Linked DNA regions of Homo sapiens: regions 1, 2, 3, 4 and 5 are each linked to region 6. The links are contacts of gene promoters, found by promoter capture Hi-C in blood cells and fetal thymus (Javierre and others, 2016). All regions are on one chromosome and are shown on one strand. Each heading gives the region's core, a stretch centred on a gene start or on the middle of the fragment in contact. The rest is flanking DNA. Distances are from core to core; before and after follow the strand shown. Region 1 holds the start of STOM (stomatin). Region 2 overlaps MEGF9 (multiple EGF like domains 9). Region 3 overlaps PSMD5 (proteasome 26S subunit, non-ATPase 5). Region 4 overlaps B3GALT9 (beta-1,3-galactosyltransferase 9). Region 5 has its middle 6.9 kb from the start of MEGF9. Region 6 holds the start of CNTRL (centriolin).

Region 1 (3,844 bases), core at 238-2,737, 300 kb after region 6:
AAACCCTGTATCTACAAAAAATACAAAATCAGCTGGGCATGGTGGTGCACGCCTGTAATCCCAGCTACTTGGGAGGATGAGGCAGGAGAATCACTTGAACTCGGGAGGCGGAGGTTGCAGTGAGCGGAGATCACACTCCAGCCTGGGCAAGAAAAGCGAAACTCCGTCTCAAAAAAAAAAAAAAAAGTGATACGGAGCCTGACCTATTTAGTTTCAATTTTTGTTGTTGTGGTTGCCATTATTCTCATCAACTCCTCCCTGTTACACTCTCCATTTGGGAAGATAACCTGCAACGTTATTAGTAGACAAAAAGTGAGGAATAAAGATTTCTGTAATTCCTTTGATGCTCCTGGGAAGGAACTGAACACAGGGATCCCTGGACAAGGGAAATGGAACTTATAGCTAAGATGCTGTGGATAAAGCTGGCTTTACAAATAATCAGAATAGATGACTCCAATGTCATGTTCTTTGAGGGGTCCTGGAAAGGACCACCCAGCCCTCTAAATTGCTTTCACTGCCATCCTGCCTGAAATTCCATCTTTAGAAACACTGTAATTCCTCTGGATCACTAAGAGCTCCTGAGTGGGTACCAGGACTCCTGAGAGGTCCACCATCTCTCTTTATTGGAACCCCCTCCCCAGAGTACCAGTTCCTCCACAGGGGAACGAGACTGAGCCACTTACAGCTCCTGCCTTGAAGACTGGGAAGGGAGGGTGGGGGTGAGGGTGGGAGAACTCAGGGTTCCTGGCGAGGAACAAAAGCCGGGAAGGAGAGTTCTCCAAAACGCAGAGGAAAGCGGAGGGGGAAAAATGGGGCAGAAAGTGGAGCTAGAAAGAGAGGTAAGAAGAAAGCCAGAGAGACTTCTTCCTTCTGCAAATCGGTCTAAGTTTCGGGAGGTGGGATTGGGGGAGGAGGGGGTTCACCCTGGGGCCAGGCCAGGGCTGGGTGGAGGAGGCGGCCTTCGAGAGAGTGAGTCGGGAAAGAAGGGGAGTGGGCAAAGGGTGAGATGTGGGGTCCCGGTCCCCGCCTCGCTGGCTGCCAGTTCCCTCTGCGTTTCCTAGTCCGCGTGCGTGACACGAGATAGTGCAGCCCTGGCATGGGGCTTGGCATCTGGCGGCCGCGAGATAACCAGGGCCCGTGCGATGGGAAACGTGCCGTTGGCAGCCCGCCACCCCTCCATCGTGACCTCAGTCTGCCAAACAGGGTTCGTGATGCTCAGTTTACTAGGGAGGAGCCGCGGCTTTGAGATCTCGCCCAGCCCGAAGCAGCGGAGACTGGCCAGGAGCCCGGCTGTCAGACCTCGGAGCGCACGCTGCGGGCGGGGGCTCGGTCCACGGGGGAGGGTCAGGGGACGCGGGACTCACCCTTGAAGGAGTCGGGGAGCCGCTGGGCTTCGGAGTCCCGTGTGTGCCGCTTCTCGGCCATGCTGCCCGAGACGCAGTCGCACTCCCCCGTCCTCGTTGCCAAACCCGGAGCCGCCGGGAATGCCCTGAGGAGCCAGAGGCACAAGACCCAGATTGCCGCCCCGCCCCCAATCGAGGTCCCGCCCTCGTGAGAGTTGGCCAATCAACGCCCAGGATCGAGGAGGACCCACCTCCCAATCCCCGCCCTCCTGTCCCTCCACGGCGCGACTGCTTCGCAGTCACTTCCCGCTAGTTCTGTGGGCTGAGGGGCGTGGCCTGAGGGGCGTGGCCTGAGGGGCGAGAGCCCCCAAGGCTGTGGGTATGAGGCCGGGGCCCTGCACCGGAAGGGAGGGCGGAAGCCACGGGACGTGGAGCAGATGGTGAGGATAGTGGGGAGGTAGCAGCAGAGGATGACCCGAGGCAAAAGTGCAAGTGAAGAAAAGTCGCCTTGCCGGGCAGAGGTACGGGACCAAGGCGCCTCCTCTGGGCTGAGGAGTTAGAGGGAAGAAAATGGCGCCCTGTCATGAGGGCGCGAGGTCCGAGTTGAGGGGAGAAGACTGAGGGACACAGAAGTGGCCGAAGTGAGGGCGCTGAGGTCAGCCTGAGCTGAGAGGGCCGGCAGATCACGCCGCAGCCGAAGTGAACGAACTCGAGTGAGGTGTGTTAAGAAAATCAAAATGTATAAATTTGGAAAAGGAGAGGAGGCCGGGCGCGGTGGCTCACGCCTGTAATCCCAGCACGTTGGAAGGCCGAGGCGGGTAGATCATCTGAGGTTAGAAGTTCGAGACCAGCTTGGCCAACATGGTGAAACCCCGTCTCTGCTAAAAATACAAAAATTAGCCGGGCGTGTGGCGCGCGCCTGTAATCCCAGCTACTTGGGAGGCTGAGGCAGGAGAATCGCTTGAACTTGGGAGGCAGAGGTTGCAGTGAGCCGAGATGGCCTGGGTGACAGAGCGAGACTCCGTCTCAAAAAAACAAAACAAAAAACAAAAAAACAGGAGAGGAGACTTTATTTCTTGTAAGGGGTTACAGCCTGCAAGGTGGCCATTCCGCAGGCTGGAGAATGGCCAGGACCAGAGACAGGCATTTCGTTGGAGGAGGGGTTGGAGTAGCGGCTTTATGCTGAACAGCTTGGGTAGACATGCATATTCAGCAGGTGACAGGAGGAGCTATGAATATTCATGAGGGTGGTCCTGACGCATGCCCATTGAGCAAACATGCATGTAACATACAACCCATGTTCATTTTGGAGTGAAGAGTTACCAATTAAATGTTAAATGCCTGGCCTGCATGGTGACGTCCCCATCTCTACAAAAAGTAAAAAAAAAATAGCCAGGTGGGGTGGTGTGTGCTTGCGGTCCCAACTAGTCAGGAGGCTGGGGCAGGAGGATCACTTGAGCCCAAGAGTTGGAGGCTGCAGTGATGTATGATCAGATCACTGCACTCCAGCCTGATGGACTCTAAAAAATAATAACAATACATGTATTACAGTTAGACCCCATGCGTCAAAAGGTCTTTTCAGGACAGGAAGGTGTGCAAGTATGCAGTCTGTGTAAACTAGCCAGAGCCAGTCCATGGTCGGTAGTTTTCCTATGAGGAGAAAGTTACTGAAATCAGCCTCTTGTCCAATTAAAGCTGTAATGATGGCTGGTGGAATAGGGGTTCCATTAGGCCACATCTGGTGGAGCTGCAAATTGTTTTAATATTGCTTATCTCGAGGCCAGTGCTTGTTAAGCTGCTAGAGAAAGAGAACAACCTTGTGGCAGTTAGAACACAGTTTATTCTCTAAGTGAAGGGATGTGTGCCTTAACCTTTGCCTGGCATGACCTTAGGTATAATTTGTTTATAATTTGGTATCTTATTGTCACAAACAGTCTGTTCTGTCAGTCTTATGATCTGTGTTTTAACGTTAATGCTGGTCAGCTGTTGTGTCTAAACTCCAATACGATGAAGTTATAATGAGGCGAGTCTGACCTTCTGTCCTGTCATTGGCTGGGAACTCAGTTTTAAAGTTTTCTGGAGTCCCCTTGGCCACAAGGGAGTCCATTCAGTCGGTGGGGTCATTTATTCAAACAAAATCTTCTTGGAGCATCTTCCATGTGGCAGGGAGTGTGCTAAGGGCCTCGTGGAGTTTACCTTATACTCTAGTTGGGAGATGGGCCACAAACAAGTAATTGAATCATTACACATGGTGAAGGAAGCTGTGAAAGGAGTGGAATATTCGGAGAACAGCAAAGGTTAGGACAGGGGAACACCTCTGTAAGGAAGGGGCTTTGAGATGTCGCCTGAGAAATGAGAAGGAGCCAGCCTGGGGAAGGGGAATAAGCGGTGCAGGAGGTGGGAAAGGGTATCCCAGGTAGAGGGAAAAGCATGTGCAAGGGCATTCCCAACCTCAGGCCTTCTCTTGGGGTGTGGCTGAAGACCTCATATTTGGAAAGTAG
Region 2 (3,383 bases), core at 314-2,813, 400 kb before region 6:
TCTAATAATCTGAATAAGTAAATCAGAAGGCAATTTCCTTTGAAAATTTAGAATGTATATACTATGTTTTAAGGGAAAATCACAGGTTTTAAATTGCTCAATGATGGCAAATTTTCTCATATTTCTCCACATTTCTCATAGTGGCTTAGCACAGTACTGATCAGTAAATAGCTATAAATGTCTGTTCAAATCAGATTCCATTTTATAAAATAAAATTAGAGCTGGTCAATTTAAAAGACAAAGATCTTCAAGATTCAATGAAAACCCACAAAATCCAGCTACAAACAGTTTACAAAAGACATAAAACAGAATTATACCTAAAGGTTAAAAGTAACTGAATGGAAAAAAGATGAAGCACGTAAATACTAGCCAAAAGAAAACTAGTACAGCTAGCTACATTAATTAATATGAGACAAAATAGATGTTTAGGCAAAAAAAAAAAGCAATATAAGCAGATAAGAGGTCTGGTCACTACATAAAAAAATGTACAATTCATTAAAAATATGTAGTTCTAAATTAGATATATATCTAATACCATAGTCTCAAAATACATAAGGCAAAATGACAGCAAATATATTTAATATGGTTATTTCTGAGGATGAAATGAGATAAAAATGTGACAGTATCAGAATAGGATATTTACTGTTTTATCTCCCCAGATGTCCTACTTTTCTTAAAATGTAGAAAATGCTCTCAGAAATTGATATCAGAAACGAGATATGACAATAAATGCTCTAAAATAAGGGATTGGGGAAGATTAGGAATTAGAGTTGGTTAAACTACAGCTTTTTACAATTTTCTGGCAGAAGGGACCTTCTTTTAATCCAGAATTGGAATAATTCAACAAGTTTCCTGAAGTCATAAAAAAGGTAGAAGAAAGAGAGAAGTCTAGTCTAGATTATAGAAAAATATTTACTATACAGGATCATGTACTCAAATACTTTACTCATTAGCATTCTAAACACCCTTATTCTCTAAATCTCACTCTGTCACCCAGGCTAGAGTGCCATGGCACACTCCCAGCTCACTGCAACCTCCGCTTCCTGGATTCAAGCGATTCTCCTGTCTCAGCCTCCCGAGTAGCTGGGACTACAGGCATACACCACTATGCCTGGCTAATTTTTGTATTTTTAGTAGAGACCGGGTTTCACCATGTTGGTCAGGCTGGTCTCAAACTCCTGACCTCAAATGATCTGCCCACCTCAGCCTCCTAAAGTGCTGGGATTACAGGCATGAGCCACCGTGCCCGGCCTCTAAAAGTTCTTTGTACCTTCCACTATGTATCCTCTACCGTGTTCCTAGAGCATTGTTAGAGAAAGTTACAATATAAAGACCTAGTGTGTTAAAGGTTTTACTTTCACTAAGTCCCTAGAACTGCTTCTAAATCCTTAGATTTATCTTACTGTTTCAATATCCATTGCCAGCATTGGCTATTCCAAGCTTCTCTTTAAGTCTTCCATCCCACTGTACAACCAGCAAATGGTTGCAACTTCATGGAAACTGAGACCTTCTTTTTCTCTCTTCCTGCTTTTTCCCATCAATTTAACCTTCCCTCCAGTTTCAGGCTAGCCAGCTCCTTCCAAGACCAAACAATCCCTCCAACTGCGCTCTTTATCACATCCTCTCCCAGAGCTCTTTCCAGGACTCTACTCTGCCCACTCCCATTGTCCCCCTACTTGAGCCTTTTCAAGCTTTCACTCTTTACAGAATTTACCTTCAAATATGCATTGGGTCTCTCACAATTCTCTGTTTAGTCTCCTGTTCCATTTAACTAGCATTTATTTTCTAAATAAAATTTCTCAAACAAAAATACAGACTGCCTCCTTTTCTTCACCACGTTTTCTTCTTAATGCTCTGCAATCTTTTCTAAACTCTACTAAAAATGCTCTCTCAAAAGTTACTAACCCAAAACAAAACAATAGCCTTCTCAGGCCATATTCTGCTTAACTATTTTGCAGCATGTGACATACTGATACCCCTTCCTCTTTGAAACTCTTTCTTTGGTCTCCACGTCATTGGATAAATCCATGAGCATTTACTGAGGATTTTACTATGATCAAGTCCTCTCCTTATGCTTCCACTTCCACATGGCAGATCATTTTGGTTCCCAATGAATCCAGGGAGAGACAAGTCTCAGCTACTCCAGTCATCCCCATCAAGGCCCCAAACATATGGGTGAGGCCATTTTTAGATCCTCCAGCTGTAGCCAATCTACCAATACAGCCAGAGTAAGCCCAAGAGAGACCAGGAGAAGAACCATCAGAATGAGAAATAAATCATTGTTATTGTTTTCAGACACTAATATGAAGAATGAAGGAGAAGACATCACTACGGGGAATATTATGCATAACTCTATGCACATAAATTCAACAACTTTGATGAAATGGACCAATCTCTTGGAAACCAAGCTATCAAAACCTAATTCAGATTACCTTAATGGTCCTATACCTATTAAAGAAATAGAATTTATAGTTTAAAACCTTCCAAAAGAGAAATCTCCAGGCCCAGATGGCGTCACTGGAGAATTCTACTAAGCATTTTAATAAGAAATAACATCAATTCTATAAAATGTCTTCCAGATAACAGAAGAGGTACGAATCCTTTCCAATTAATTCTATAAGGACAGCATTATTTTGACATCAAAACCAGATAAAAACATTACAAGAAAACTACAGAACAATATTCCTTGTGAACATCTTGGATCAAAAACCTCTCAACAAAATAACCAGTAATATATAAACAACAAATTGAACCCAGCAATATATAAAAAGATTAAGTGGGATTTATTCCAGAAATACTGGTTTGACACTTGAAAACTAATCAGTGCAATCCATCCTGTTAGCAGACTAAAGAAAAATGCCATCTCATCTCAACTGATGCAAGAAAAGATTTTAAAAAATTAACATCCATTCATGGGAGAAGTGCCCAGAAAACTATGAATAGAAGGAAACTTTCTCAGCCTAATAAAGGGTATCTATGAAGAAACTACATTTAACATTATACTTCATAGTGAGAGACTAATTACTTTCTCCCAAGATCAGGAACAAGGCAAGAATGTCCTCTCTTGCCACTCCTATTCAAAATCATATTAGAAGTCCTAGACAGTGGAATAAGGCAAGGAAAAGAAAGAAATGGTCTTCAGATCAAAAAAGAAACAAAACTGGGCCAGGGGTAGTAGCTCGACACGTATAAAATCCCAGCTCTTTGGAAGGCCAAGGTGGGAGGATTACATGAATCCAGGAGTTCAAGACCAGCCTAGGCAACATAGTGAGACCCCATCTCTACAGAAAAATAAATAAATAAATAAATAAATAAATAAATAAATAAAAAGCCAGGAATGGTGGCACATGCCTGTAGTCTCGGCTATTCCTGGGGCTGAGATG
Region 3 (3,488 bases), core at 124-2,623, 260 kb before region 6:
TAGTCAGCATGGAAACACACACAAAAAACAGAGTCACGTTGCCAGGGGAGATGATCAATCTGGGGACTAGATAATTCCAGTCACTTTAAAATAATTTTGTTACAAAGCAGGGGTGGTTTATCAACTTCACCACGGCCTAAAAGAAATATGCTCATGCATAAACCTCTGAACAGGTGATTTGGTGTGCAGAGTGCTTTGGCTTTGCTGTTTAGAGAGAAGAACACTGGAAAACAGGTGGGTGTAGGTGTTGTCAATGAAAAGAAAGATTATCCTTTGTAAATTAATGAGATGGTATCCTGATTTATGCATATGTCCCTTCTGTTCTGAGTCTGTTTATTAGGAGTAAGTTTCCCTTTCTCTGATCAACTCAAGATTGACTTTATAGGTATGAAAAATCCAAAGCAAAACCCTCAGCAATCATGACCTACCAATAAATGAAATGACAGTTTAGGAATCCTTCTGATCCCCCAAAACCACAACAGGGCAAAGTTCATTGGTAAACAGCAAAAAAAATTACATGAACACTATAAACATTTTTTAGATATTTTGTCTTTTTTTCAAAGGAATAATAGTAACAAAAAAACAAGAGAGCTCATAAAAAGTATTCTGAGTATAAGGAACATAATCTTAATATTCCATACTACTCATTTTTCAAAGAATATATCCAAGACTTTGAAAGTGGAATCAGAAATGGAAAAAGGACCAAAAAGAAAAAAAAAGATAGTGAAGAGAATCCAGAAATAATTTGGTGGCAGGTTTTTATTTTATTCATTTATTTTTGAGACAGAGTCTTGCTGTGTTGCCCAGGCTGGTGTGCAGTGGCAAGATCTCAGCTCACTGCAACCTCTGCCTCCCAGGCTCAAGCGATTCTCGTGCCTCAGCCTCCTGAGTAGCTGAGATTATAGGTGTGCGCCACCATGCCTGGCTGATTTTATATTTTTAGTAGAGACAGGGTTTTGCCATATTGGCCAGGCTGGTCTTGAACTCCTAGACTCAAGTGATTTGCCCATCTTGGCCTCCCAAAGTGCTGGGAATTATAGGTGTTAGCCACCGCGCCCAGCCCTGAAGCAGGCTTTTAGATAAGATTGCATGTCCATGAAAATTTTGAGGGAAGAAAAAAACTTCCACCCTGTTGCAAAGATTAAGGCAGTGAAAGGAATCTGAAAAACACTGGATCTATTATGACCAAGCTTGTCTGCTCTTAATGCATTCCAAACTCCTAGTTCCACTTTGCATTTCAATGTAGAAATATAACAGTGTTGGTAACAAAGTAACATCTGACATTCCATGATAATTCTTGGGGAAAGGAAGTCTCTTTTGTGAAATATAGATGGAGTCAAATGCCTTAGGAGAAGTTTTGGTCAAAACGTGGTCCTCTACATGAGCTCTAGAAGAAATCATTCGGCTCCTTCTACTGCTGTCGTGGAAACAGGTTTCACATAGTATGGCCCTTCACTCAGGTAAGTTCTGAGCCTCAAATAATTTGGGTTCCCAAAGATTTCTGCAATTGTCTTGGAATTGGCAAGTGCTTTCACTAGTTCATATTTGGCATCCTTTGAAGCTTTGTCATGCTCCACAGACCGGTCCACCACATATTCTACAAAACCTGGACTGTTAAACATAAGTTTCTGAGCCCAGGGTTGGTTTGCAATGGCCTGAAATGGAAGGCAGAAAGAATACAATTCCCCTGAGTGGAAGTTGTTTGTTAATGGGATGGCACAATATTTACAAAGAAATCTGGCAACATGAACTTTAAAAATGTTACCTTTTGTCTAAGTAAATTCCTTCCTGAGAATCTAACTTAATAAAATAATCTTAAATATGAAAAATCTTTGTATACAAAAATGTTCATAATAGTGTGAAAGTTACAATATAAATATCTAATAATGGGAGAATGGTTAAGTAAATTATGGTATATAGCAATAAAAATAAACATTAACAATAATGTTTACAAAAAATAGGAAATGATACAGGTAAACCTGTTATATAAAAAAAGCAGATTCAAATTATAAACAATGCATGATTACAACAGTGGAAAAATAAAAACTAAAGTAGAAAAGACTAACCTCAAGATACTCATATAGTGCACAAACATTTTCAAGAATGTTCATTGTGGTATCATTTGTAAGATACTATCTAAATCTTCATTTATAGGAGAATGATATATTGTGGCTATTCAATGAAATACCAACTTTCTAACTGCCTCTTTTAACATAGACAAATTTTAAAAAAACGTAACATTGAAGAGAAAAAAAAAAAAAGCAAAAACTGCAATTACTTTTGCACCAACCTAATGGAATGATACAAACAGCATGATACCACTTACAAAGTTTATGAATATCTAAAATACTGTGTTTTATTTAAGGATACACACAATATGTAGTAGAAATATGAAATCATTTATGGGCCCTGACTTTGTGATAGTGATTTTATCTAAGAACAGAGGAAGGGGAATAGGACTGGGCAGAGGTAGCAAGATACAACTATATTTGAAATATTTCACCAAAAATAAACACACACTAATACAAAAACTAAAAGGAAATACACCAAAAGGTAGAACTTTCTGTGATTTTAAAAAATTCTACTTCTAAGTCTTTTCCAAATTTTAAGATTAAGTTTTTCAAAACCTATTACGTTTTAATGAAAAAGAAGTAACAAGTTTATGGCCTAGTTTTTTCCTCTCAAAATGTGTTCCACAGACAAGTAGCATCAGCAACACCTGCGAGCTTGTTAGACTTTCAGGATCCCAGGCTCTGCCCCACAACTACTGAATTAGAATCTACATTTTAATAAGATTCCTAAGATTAATGTTTGAGAAACTTTGGCCTGCTTCACAACCAAGCATGAAAGTAGGCAGAAATAAAAATAGTTATCCCAACCAGTAAATAGAAAATTATTTCTACAATGGAACCAGCTAAGCACAGGATAAGGTAGAAGAGCAAAACCAAAATAAACTAATAATGAAAATACTAAGCAGGATCCAAAATGGCCATCTCATACAATGACCATTTACAAGGGTGAAGCAGTCTTAAAGAAATGTTTCTGGCTAGGCGCGGTGGCTCACGCCTGTAATCCCAGCACTCTGGGAGGCCGAGGCGGGCGGATCACAAGGTCAGGAGATCGAGACCATCCTGGCTAACACAGTGAAACCCCGTCTCTACTAGAAATACAAAAAGAAATTAGTCGGGCATGGTGGTGGGCGCCCGTAGGCTAGCTGCTCGGGAGGCTGAGGCAGGAGAATGGCGTGAACCCGGGAGGTGGTGCTTGCAGTGAGCCAAGATCACGCCACTGCATTCCAGCCTGGGCGACAGAGCGAGACTCTGTCTCAAAAAAAAAAATGTTTCTGAAGATTATAGGAATACCTGTATCCTTCAAGACCCAGATCCTGTATCGCATCCTCAGGAAGCCTTCCCTCTTTTGTCCCTGCCATTTTCCTTATTCCCTCCCAGTCTAGGCCATGTATGCTGTCTGAGATCCCATTATTGATA
Region 4 (3,401 bases), core at 433-2,932, 270 kb before region 6:
GTAGCCCAGGAAATGGAACAAGACGGGACCTCATTAGGAAAACTTGGGGCAATGTGACCAGTGTCCAAGGGCATCCCATTCTCACACTGTTTGCTCTGGGAATGCCTGTTTCGGTAACTACCCAGAAAGAGATCAACAAAGAATCCTGTAAGAATAATGATATAATTGAAGGAATCTTCTTGGACAGTTCTGAGAACCAAACCCTGAAGATCATTGCAATGATACAGTGGGCTGTGGCTTTCTGCCCTAATGCCCTGTTCATTCTCAAGGTGGATGAAGAGACGTTTGTCAATCTACCAAGCTTGGTAGACTATCTTCTCAATCTGAAAGAACACCTAGAAGATATCTATGTAGGAAGAGTTCTTCATCAGGTTACACCCAATAGAGATCCTCAGAACAGAGACTTTGTCCCTCTTAGTGAGTACCCAGAAAAATACTACCCAGATTACTGCAGTGGTGAGGCCTTTATAATGTCCCAAGATGTGGCTCGAATGATGTATGTGGTTTTCAAAGAAGTACCCATGATGGTGCCAGCTGATGTGTTTGTAGGAATTTGTGCTAAGTTCATTGGCCTTATACCCATCCACAGCTCAAGGTTTTCTGGGAAAAGGCACATTAGATACAACAGATGTTGCTATAAGTTCATTTTTACATCCTCAGAAATTGCAGATCCTGAAATGCCCCTAGCATGGAAGGAAATTAATGATGGAAAAGAATGTACACTGTTTGAGACATCCTATGAGCTCATTTCCTGCAAACTTCTGACGTACCTTGACAGCTTTAAACGTTTTCACATGGGGACCATAAAAAACAATCTCATGTATTTTGCTGATTAGGATTTCTTTAATTTTCCTTATGAGTCTACTATTTTAAAGTTACCTTCTACCCTGTTATGGAAAGCATCCCTTCTTTCCCATGTTTTATGTAGGTTCTCTGAATCTTTAATTTTATTTGCAAAGGTACAAAATGTTTTCTGTGCTCTGGTGTGCTCAATTACTGAGATCTCAAATTTTTAAAAAATTTAAGTTGGTGTAGCATAATTCTTTTCAAAATGAAATATTTCTCTCAAAAGAGAGAACATTATGTTTCATTGTTTATTTAGTTTTCGTTTTTTTTTTTTCTTTTGAGACAGGGTCTGGCTCTGTCACCCAGGCTGGAGTGCAGTGGCGCAATCTCGACTCACTGCAACCTCCACCGCCTGGGCTCAAGGGATCCTCCCACCTCAGCCTTTTGAGTAGCTGAGACTATAGGCATGTGCCACCATACCCGGCTAATTTTTTTTTTTTTTTTTCGGAGACAGAGTCTTGCTCTGTCGCCCAGGCTGGAGTGCAATGGCACCATCTCTGTTCACTGCAACCTCTGCCTCCCAGGTTAAAGCAATTCTCCTGCCTCAGCCTCCCAAGTAGCTGGGATTACAGGTGCCTGCCACCACGCCTGGCTAATTTTTGGTATTTTTAGTAGAGGCGGGGTTTCACCATGTTGGCCAGGCTGGTCTCGAACTCCTGGCCTCAAGTGATCCACCCGCCTGGGCCTCCCAAAGTGCTGGGATTACAGGTGTGAGCCACCACGCCTGGCCTAATTTTTGTATTTTTTTATAGAGATGGGGGTTTCATGATGTTGCCCACGCTGGTCTTGAACTCCTGGGCTCAAGTGATCCTCCCACCTCAGCCTCCCAAAGTCCCAAAGTGTTGGGATTATAGGTGTGAGGAACCGTACCTGGCCAGTACACAATTCATTATAACTAAGTTTTTTTTTTTATAAACTGACTAGTAAAAATTATGTATATTTATGTTGTACAACATGTTTTGATATATGTATATGTTATAGAATGGCTAAATCAAGCTATTTAACACATGCATCACCTGACATACTTTTTTGTAGTGAGAACACTTAAAATCTACTCTACTAACAATTATCAGATATTGATATATTGCTGTTAATTGTCATGACCATGATGTATGATAGAGCTCTTGAACTTATTCCTCATGTCTAACAAAAATGTTGGATCTCTTGGCCATATCTGCCAAGTTTTCCCAACCCCCAGTCTCTGGTAACCTCCATTTACTCTCTGTTTCTATGAATTTGAGTTTTTTTACACTCCACATATAAGTGAGCTCATGTGCTTATTTGTCCTTCAATGCCTGGTTTATTTCATGTAACATAATGCACTCCAGGTTCATCCATGTTGTTGGAAATGACAGGATTTCTTTCATTTATAAGGCTGAATAGCATTTTATTGTGGATATATACCACATTTTCTTTATTCATGCACTGGTGGACACTTAGATAGATGCCACTAATCTTGTGAATAATGCTGCATTGAATGTGGGGAGTGCAGATATCTCTTTAACATACTGATTTAATATCTTTTGGATATATTTCCAGTAGCGGAATTGCTAGATTGTGTGGCAGTTCTATTTTTAATTTTGTGAGGAACCTCCATAATGGCTGTATTATTGGTTTACCATAATGGCTCATTGTGGTTTTACTTTGCATTTCCCTGATGATTAGTGGTATTGAGCATTTTTTTTTCATATACCTGTTGGCCATTTGTACTTCTTCTTTTGAGAAATGTCTATTTAGGGCCTTTGGTCATTTCTAAGTCAGGTTATTTGGGCAGGGCACAGTGGCTCATGGCTGTAATCCCAGCACTTTGGGAGGCCAAGGCAGGTGGGTCACCTGAGATGGGAATTCAAGAGCAGCCTGGCCAACAGGGTGAAACCCCGCCTCTACTAAACATACAAAAAATTAGCTGGACCCGGTGGTACGTGCCTGTAATCCCAGCTACGCGGGAGGCTGACACAGGAAAATCGCTTGAATCCAGGAGGTGGAGGTTGCAGTGAGCCGAGATCATGCCACTGCACTCCAGCCTGGGCAACAGTCTGAGACTCTATCTCAAAAAACAAAATAAAATAAAATAAATAAAGTGATTTGCTTTCATGCTATTGTGTTGTTTGAGTCCCTTATCTATTTGGATATTAACCCCAGAACAGATATATGGCTTGCAAATATTTTCTCCCATTCCATAGCTTATCTCTTCACTGATTGCTGCTTTTGATATGCACAAGCTTTATAGTTTGGTATTATCTCATTTGTCTATTTTAGCTTTTGTTGCCTATACTTAAGGGGTCATAGCCAAGAAAATCTTCGCCCAGACCAATGTCATGGAGCTTCCCCCACCTATGTTTTCTTCTAGTAGTTGTACAGGTCTTACATTTAAGGTCTTACATTTAAGTCTTTAATCCGTTGTGAGTTGATTTTTGTATATAGTGTGAGATGAGGGTATACTTTTATTATTCTGCAGGTAGATATCCATCCAGTTTTCCCAGCACCATTCATTGTAAAGACTATCTTTTTCCCATTCAGTGTTCTTGGCATCTTTATCAAAAATCAATTGACTA
Region 5 (3,752 bases), core at 900-3,399, 350 kb before region 6:
AATACAAATGACTAAAAAATATGAAATACTGCATATGCAACTTGAGTAATTAAAGCATTGCAAGTTGAGATAAGGAGTTGCCATTTTTTTAACCTATTGATTTGGCAAAAATTTTTACAAACTGGTAATACTTGTTATGGTCTCTCACTGTTGATAGAAATATAAAGTGATACAACCTTTCCAGAAAGCCTTAAAAGTGTTTATACTCTTTGACCCATTATTTCCACTTTTTTTTTTTTTTTTTGAGACGGAGTCTCACTCTTTTTGCCCAGGCTGGAGGGCAATGGCATGATCTTGGCTCACCGCACTCTCTACCTCCCGGGTTCAAGCGATTCTCCTGCCTCAGCCTCTCAATTAGCTGAGATTACAGGCATGTGCCACCATGCCCAGCAAATTTGGTATTTTTAGTAGAGATGGGGTTTCTCCATGTTGGTCAGGCTGGTCTCGAATTCCCGACCTCAGGTGATCTGCCTGCCTCGGGCTCCCAAAGTGCTGGGATTACAGGCGTGAGCCACTGCACCCGGCTCATTATTTCTACTTTTAATAATCTAGCCAAAGGCCAGGCACAGGAGATCATGCCTGTGATCCCAACACTTTGGGAGGCTTAGGTGGGCAGATCACTTGAGCCCAGGAGTTCAAGACCAGCCTGGGCAACATGGTGAAACCCCGTCTCTACTAAAAAAAAAAAAAAAATTACTAAAAATTAGCATGGTGGTATGCAGCTGTAGTCCCAGCTACCTGGGAGGCTGAGGTGGGAGATCACCTGAGCTTGGGAAGTCGAGGCTGCAGTGAGCCATGATCATGCCACTGTACTCCAGCCTGGGCAACAGAGTAAGACCCTGTCCCAAAAAGAGAAAAAAAAAAGAATCTATCCAAAGGAAATAAATAATCAGATGTAAATATGTATGTACAAAAATGTTCACCAGAGTGTTATATAATTACAAAAATTAGAAAAATCTAAACAGTTAACAAAGGATTAGTTGAGTACTTTGTGCTGTATGATGTTTCTATGTAGAAACACTATACATCTATAAAAAATGATACTCACCTGCCTAGCACTGCCTGCCCAACACTGCCCACCCAGTGCCTGTCCCCAGACTATGGCCCAGCCCCCTTTGCCCTTGTCCATCAAAGGTGCCGCCAGCATGTCTGACAAACTGCCCTACAAAGTTGCTGACATCGGCCTGGCCACCTGGGGACACAAGGCCCTAGACATTGTGGAGAATGGATGCCGGGTTTGATGGGCATGCAGGAGCTTTACTCGGCCTCCAGGCCACTGAAGGGTGCCTGCATTGCTGACTGCCTGCAAATAACTGTGGAGACGGCCATCCTCATTGAGACCCTTTTCTCCCTGGGTGTTCAGGAGCAGTGGTCTAGCTGCAGCATCTTCTCCACCCAGGAACATGCAGTGGCTGTCTTTGCCGAGGCTGGCATGCCAGTGTTCACCTGGAAGGGCAAAATGAAAGAGGGGTACCCGTGGTGCATTGAACAGACACTGTACTTCAAGGACGGGCCCCTCAACATGATTCTGGATGATGGGGGTGACCTTACCAACCTCATCCACACCAAGTACGTACCCACAGCTCATGTCGGGCATCTGAGGCATCTCTGAGGAGACCAAAACCGGGGTCCACAACCTACACAAGATGATGGCCAGTGCAATCCTGAAGGTGCCTACCATCAACGTCAATGACTCCGTCACCAAGAGCAAAATTTGACAACCTCTATGGCTGCCAGGAGTCCCTTATAGATGGCACCAAGTGGACCAAGACGTGATGATTGCCAGCAAGGTAGCAGTGGTAGCAGGCTATGGTGGTGTGGGCAAGGGCTGTGCCCAGGCCTTGCAGGGTTTTGGGGCCTGCATAATCATCACCGAGACTGACCCCATCAGTGCACTGCAGGCTGCCATGGAAGGCTATGAGGTGACCACCATGGACGAGGCCTGTCAGGAGGGCAACATCTTTGTCACCACCACAACCTGTGTCAATATCATCCTTGGCCGGCACTTTGAGCAGATGAAGGATGATGCCATCTTATGTAATACTGAACAATTTGACGTGGAGATCGATGTCAGGTGCCTCAACAACAATGCTGTGGAGAAGGCAAACATCAAGCCCAGGCGGACTGGTACTGGCTGAAGAATGGGTGCCACATCATCGTGCTGGCTGAGGGTTGGCTGGTCAACCTGGGCTGTGCTATGGGCCGCCCCAGCTTTGTGGGGAGTAACTCCTTCAACCAGGTGATGGTGCAGATTGCGCTGTGGACCCACCCAGACAAGTACCCCATTGGGGTTCACTTCCTGCCCAAGAAGCTGGATGAGGCAGTGGCTGAGGCGCCCCCCTGGGCAAGATGAACGTGAAATTGACCAAGCTAACTGAGAAGCAAGCCCAGTAGCTGAGCACGTCCCGTGATGGCCCCTTCAAGCCGGATCACTACTGCTGCTGAGAGTCAGGCCTGCCCTTCACTTTCCAGCTGCTGTCCTTGCTCAGGCCCCGCCTCTTCTCCCTAAGAGCAAATGGCACCAACTTTGTGATTGGTTGGTTAGTGTCCCCCATCGATGGGGCTGGTCACTCAGTTTTTGGCCTCTGCTGCATCCCTAACACTATATCAAGTGTGGCGGGGAAATTGAGAGGCCCCTCCTCAAGCCCTGGTCATGATGGAGGTACAAGGGAGGCATCCACAAGGAACCATGAGTTGAGTGGTCTTGGAACTGCTCACTAAGTCAGTCCTTCCTTTTTTTTTTTTTTTTTTTTGGTATTTTTGGTAGAGACGGGGTTTCACCATGTGGGCCAGGATGGTCTCGATCTCTTGCCCTCATGCCTCGGCCTCCCAAAGTGCTGGGATTACAGGCATGAGCCACTGGCGCCCAGTCAGTCCTTCCTTAGTTTGGAAGTTGGTAGTGGAGTCACAAAGCCCATGTACCTTACCATTCAGGTAAGGTTCCTGGTCTGTGGACTTATACCGTGTTCCTGGTCTGTGGACTTATACCCGTGGTTTACAGGTTCAGTGGTTCCCCAGCCCATGACAGATGAGAAGGAGCTATATTGAAAGGCAAAGAGGAACTGTTGTTTGAATTTTCCTGAGAGCCTGGCTTAGGGCTGGGCCTTCTCTTAAACCTCATAACAATGAGGTTGGTACTTTTAGTCCCTGTTTTACAGGGGTCAGAATAGACTGTAAAGGGATAACTGAGAAAGGACAGAGAAGTGACAGCCAGAGGGGCTATAAAAACATAAAAGCAAGCATAGATCTGCTACTACTTTGTAACAAGATGGTTCCTATCACAACCCTGGTTCAAAAAGAGAATAATATGGTTTTAATGTTAAAAGAAAGCAGGAAGGTGGGTAAATAAAAATCTTGGTGCCTGAAAAAAAAAAAAAAAAAAAAAGATGATACTCAAGCACAGTGGCTCATGCCTATAATCCTGACACTTTGGGAGGCCCAGGCGGGTGGATTGCTTGAGCTCAGGAGTTCGAGACCAGCCTGGCAAAATGGTGAAACCCCATCTCTACCAAAAATACAGAAAAATTTGCCTGGCATCGTCGTTGCACCTGTAGTTTGAGCTACTCTAGAGGCTGAGGTGGAAGAATCACTTAAACCCGGGAGGTGGAGGTTGCAGTGAGTGGAGATGGTGCCACTGCACTCCAGCCTGGGTGACAGAGTGAGACCCTGTCTCAAAAAAAAAAAAAAAAAAAAAAAAAAAAGATACTTATGAAGGAAATTCTTATAAAATTGTGGAAAAAATCATTAATATA
Region 6 (3,557 bases), core at 157-2,656:
CTCTGTCGTCCAGGCTGGAGTGCAGTGGCGCGATCTCGGCTCACTGCAACCTCCGCCTCCCGGGTTCAAGCGATCCTCCTGCAGCCTCTCAAGCAGCTGGGATGACAAGCGTGCGCCACCACGCCCGGGTAATTTTTGTATTTTTAGTAGAGACGGCGTTTCACCTTGTTGGCCAGGCTGATCTTGAATTCCTGACCTCAAGTGATCCTCCCACCTTGGTCTCCCAAAGTGCTGGGATTACAGGCATGAGCCACAGCGCCCGGCCAGGATTCACTTTTATAATTATCAGGAAAACTGTAGGAAGTGTTAATAGGTAAAAGGACCTCATTTCATAGATAAGGAAACTGAGACACAGAGAGAGAGGGAGTTTCTAAAAGTGTTATACAGGTGGCCTATAAACTCTGTAGTGAAGAAAGGAAATGAAGACAGGATAGAATGATCGCGAGAAAATGGTAAGAACAAGGGACTGGAAGACGCAAGGAAGTTTAGAAATACGCTGGCATAGGGGTCTTTTGAGCAGGCACGCTGCTAAGATGATAGGATTATAGTCAAGGATGGGGAGCGATTGCACTGGGGATTTCTGGAGCGGGTGCAGCCTCTGATGGTAACATGGTCCAGGGTATACCTTCAAAACGGGAGGCTACTGGAGTGAAAGGCGTCAATGGTGATAACACTTTAAAAAAAACTTCAGTGTTTCCCTAGCATCCAGCCCAGTATCTGCTAAATTCTTTAAAATATCTGTTGAATGCATGTCGTGAACGCCGTGCTCATGGGCAAGCCCCAGATGAAGCCTGTGCAAGTGCTTCTTGCTTTAACTCCCTTGTAGCAATCAGAGGAACATCCTCTGCCTAGGATTCCCAAGCTCCCTGAACCTCACGCGACAGCTGGAGCCCAGGCTGCGTCCGCTTTGAGGTTCATCCGAGCCTGGGCAGTTCGGTCCCTGGAGGGAATTCGCTTTAGATACGACTGTCAGAGAGAAGTGTGCTGATAAGAACACTCGCTCATAGCGCGCAAGCATCAGAAGTGGGGGAGGCCGGGGAGGCGCTGCGCCGGTGCCTCAGGCCGTCCTCGGACACAGGCCCTGAGAAGCGTGTCCGTGTTTCAGAGGGTGGCGGCGGCAGCTTTGTCTCAGCGAAGGCCACAGCACTGCGGGCAGCTGCCGCATGAAACCTCGGCTCCCCCTGACTCTGCACCCGACACTTCACCTGCAACGCAATCCGAAGGCGAAGGCACCGCATCCCGTCGGCCCCGCGCGGCCGGAAGCCTCGCGCCCAAGACTCCCCGGCATCCTAGCGCGCTGGCTGCAAAAGAGGCGGGAAACGCCTCCGCGTCCCTTCCAACAGTACCGGAGAGGGAGAGGGGCGTGGCTGAGACTAGCCCCGACCACGCGCGCGCGGCCCCTCGGCAACCGGCACAACACAACAAAATGGCTGCCGCGCCGCTGGGCCCCTGAGGAAAGAGCCCGAACTTCTCCCGCTCTACCTCAGCCTGCGGGACTGCTCGGCTCGGCTTCTAGGCGGTGAGCGTCAGACCTGGCCGAGCCCGTTCCCCGGCATCCGGCCCGAGCAGTGGGGGCCGGCGGCAAAGGCGGGAAGGCCCGGACCGGGCGTGGTGTGGGCCGGCTTGGGATGGATTCGGGGCGGGGGCGCGTGTCTGGGAATTGGGATTGGACGGGAAAGAGGGGAGGGCCCGGAACGGGCGTGGGGCGGTGGATGAAGGAGGGAGGTTTGGATGGGAAGAGGTGGGGACGGCGGGGGCGATTGGGGATGAAGAACCAGAGTGTGGGGAGGTGTGGAAGTTAGGGTGCGGCGCCCAGAAGGTTGTGGGTCCTGCCACCTGAGCTGAGGGGAGAGCTGGGATGTGCCAGCTGTCTGTGGGGAGTGAGCGGGAGAAAGGACAGTTTGGGCGTCCTGACGGGTTGTCACGGTATCGGACGGAGTACAGTGCGTGGAGAAAGATGACAGGATATGGGGACGAAATGCTAAAAGAAGGGGAAGAACAAACACTTCCGTTATATTCGTTAAGGGACTAGAGAATTTTGAAGCCAGACAAACTTGGGTTGAAGCCTCAATTCTGCCACCTTGTGTAACTTAACCAGGTCTGTGACCCTGGATATGTGTCTGAGCCTTCCTGATCATGTTTCCTCATTTGTCCAAATAATTGCGAATCATTTTTGGGTGTTCACTATTTGTCAGATCCAGTTTTAAGCACTTTGCACGTATTAACCTCATTTAGAATTTAAAATAACTTGTATGAGGTTATCATCCCCATTTAAAAAGTGATAGCACTGAGGACCAGAGAGGTTAAGTAATTTGCCTAAGATCACACAGTAAGTGGAAAATCAGAATTTGAACTCAGGCTGTTTCGTTCCAGAATCCAAGCTTTTAACTGTTCAGGTACATTGCCATTTGTAAATCAGGTTAATAATTCTGATCCTATACAGCTAAATCTTTGAGGATTTAAATTTGGTATTGTCTAAGTGTTTAGTACAGTCCTTCAGTCAACAAATATTTATTGTTTATAGAACAACAGACAAAACCTCTGCTCTCTTGTAGCTTATAGTCTAGAAGGAGAAACAGGCAACAACCAAGTAGTTTCACAAATAATGGTTATAAAATGCTATGAAGGAGACTGCTTGGTGCAGAGATCATGGGTAATAGGGAGATAAAATCTTCTGCATCTTGAGCTTAGATTCTAGCATGGTTCTTCCTACATAAAAGTTGCTCAATAAAATTGAATAATTAATGGAAAGAGATGGGAAGCTTGAGTTTTAGGGTATCTGAGCAGAAGAAGAGAGATGGGAGAGGGGATTCAGGCTTTTAATAGGATGGAGAAGGATACGGGGGCTAGAGTATTAGGATGGAAAGGCAAATAGGCAGGCAGTTGGGTTGGGATGAAGAGGAATGGATGGAGGTTTGAGTATTTTGTTTAGGGAGGGGAGTAATTGGAGGTCAGAGTATTGGAACGCATTAGGATGTCAGGGTATTTTCTGGGGTGAAGAGAGATGAGCAGCTTGGGAAGTCTGGATGGATAGAGAAATGTTGAGTCTGGGCACAGGAAAGAACCATAGAGAAATGGGGGAGACTATTACTGTGTTAGGGAACTGGGATAGAATTTGTGGGAAAATTGGCAATCAGAATGGGATAAAGAAGAATGGGAGGCAGAGGTGGGTGGGCAGCACAGAATGGGGGAATTGGCTTTGGAAAGAAAAATGGCTGGAGACTTTGCAGAGGAATCGGAATCAGGATATTTGAAAGGAGGAGAAGATTAAGGAGTAAAAGTATTTCAGTAGGTCAGAGGGTATGGGATGAAGTAGACTTGGAAAGTACTGAAATCCAATTAAAGGGCTAAGGAGAGGGATATGGGGGTTAATAAATGGGGATGGGTATTTGCATATTAGGGAGTCTGTAGAGAGACAGAAGGAGGTCTGCGTTATTTGGAGATCAGAGAAGATGGGAAGTTAGGAAGGTTAGGAAAGGCTGGATGGAGGTGGAGTTTGCAGTCTGTACTAAGCTGTGATGGACTGAATTGTTAGATCAGAGCAACTATCTGGGTTT

What was found. The method cuts DNA at HindIII sites, captures the fragments that hold promoters and counts their contacts. A CHiCAGO score of 5 or more calls a contact.
Region 1: a contact is called between the fragment with the promoter of STOM here and the fragment with the promoter of CNTRL in region 6, in 8 of 17 cell types (total B cells, activated CD4 T cells, naive CD4 T cells and 5 more). The highest score is 8.3, in total B cells.
Region 2: a fragment that was not itself captured here is called in contact with the fragment with the promoter of CNTRL in region 6 in 8 of 17 cell types (naive CD4 T cells, monocytes, neutrophils and 5 more); the score reaches 10.6 in naive CD4 T cells.
Region 3: a fragment that was not itself captured here is called in contact with the fragment with the promoter of CNTRL in region 6 in 9 of 17 cell types (non-activated CD4 T cells, total CD4 T cells, total CD8 T cells and 6 more); the score reaches 18.7 in non-activated CD4 T cells.
Region 4: a fragment that was not itself captured here is called in contact with the fragment with the promoter of CNTRL in region 6 in 13 of 17 cell types (naive CD8 T cells, total CD8 T cells, non-activated CD4 T cells and 10 more); the score reaches 20.6 in naive CD8 T cells.
Region 5: a contact is called between a fragment that was not itself captured here and the fragment with the promoter of CNTRL in region 6, in 15 of 17 cell types (naive CD8 T cells, naive CD4 T cells, non-activated CD4 T cells and 12 more). The highest score is 23.8, in naive CD8 T cells.

Annotation. Positions count from the first base shown.
Region 1 is chr9:121,368,763-121,372,606 of GRCh38, forward strand. STOM (stomatin) reads right to left here and starts at 1,488. Exons shown (of 7, transcript NM_004099.6): 1 at 1,365-1,488. The coding sequence starts at 1,425. LOC102723324 (a long non-coding RNA gene) reads left to right here and starts at 1,131. Exons shown (of 7, transcript NR_187160.1): 1 at 1,131-1,204. RefSeq lists enhancers at 1,493-2,453, 1,913-2,002. The HindIII fragment of the contact is 8,041 bases long and covers 1-3,844 here.
Region 2 is chr9:120,669,145-120,672,527 of GRCh38, forward strand. All of the region lies in intron 1 of MEGF9 (multiple EGF like domains 9), which reads right to left. Among named protein-coding and RNA genes, the nearest start is that of MEGF9, 44 kb to the right of the region's middle. The HindIII fragment of the contact is 251 bases long and covers 1,439-1,689 here.
Region 3 is chr9:120,816,509-120,819,996 of GRCh38, forward strand. PSMD5 (proteasome 26S subunit, non-ATPase 5) reads right to left here. Exons shown (of 10, transcript NM_005047.4): 10 at 1-1,655. The coding sequence ends at 1,398. Among named protein-coding and RNA genes, the nearest start is that of PSMD5, 25 kb to the right of the region's middle. The HindIII fragment of the contact is 371 bases long and covers 1,189-1,559 here.
Region 4 is chr9:120,798,843-120,802,243 of GRCh38, forward strand. B3GALT9 (beta-1,3-galactosyltransferase 9) reads left to right here. Exons shown (of 3, transcript NM_001386823.1): 3 at 1-2,945. The coding sequence ends at 836. Among named protein-coding and RNA genes, the nearest start is that of B3GALT9, 7.1 kb to the left of the region's middle. The HindIII fragment of the contact is 2,767 bases long and covers 300-3,066 here.
Region 5 is chr9:120,719,528-120,723,279 of GRCh38, forward strand. It overlaps the pseudogene AHCYP2. Among named protein-coding and RNA genes, the nearest start is that of MEGF9, 6.9 kb to the left of the region's middle. The HindIII fragment of the contact is 4,871 bases long and covers 1-3,752 here.
Region 6 is chr9:121,073,549-121,077,105 of GRCh38, forward strand. It overlaps CNTRL (centriolin), which reads left to right and starts at 1,407. Exons shown (of 44, transcript NM_007018.6): 1 at 1,407-1,519. It also overlaps a transcript of C5 not described here. RefSeq lists silencers at 671-867, 1,492-1,551, 1,672-1,811 and an enhancer at 982-1,371. The HindIII fragment of the contact is 4,047 bases long and covers 1-2,379 here.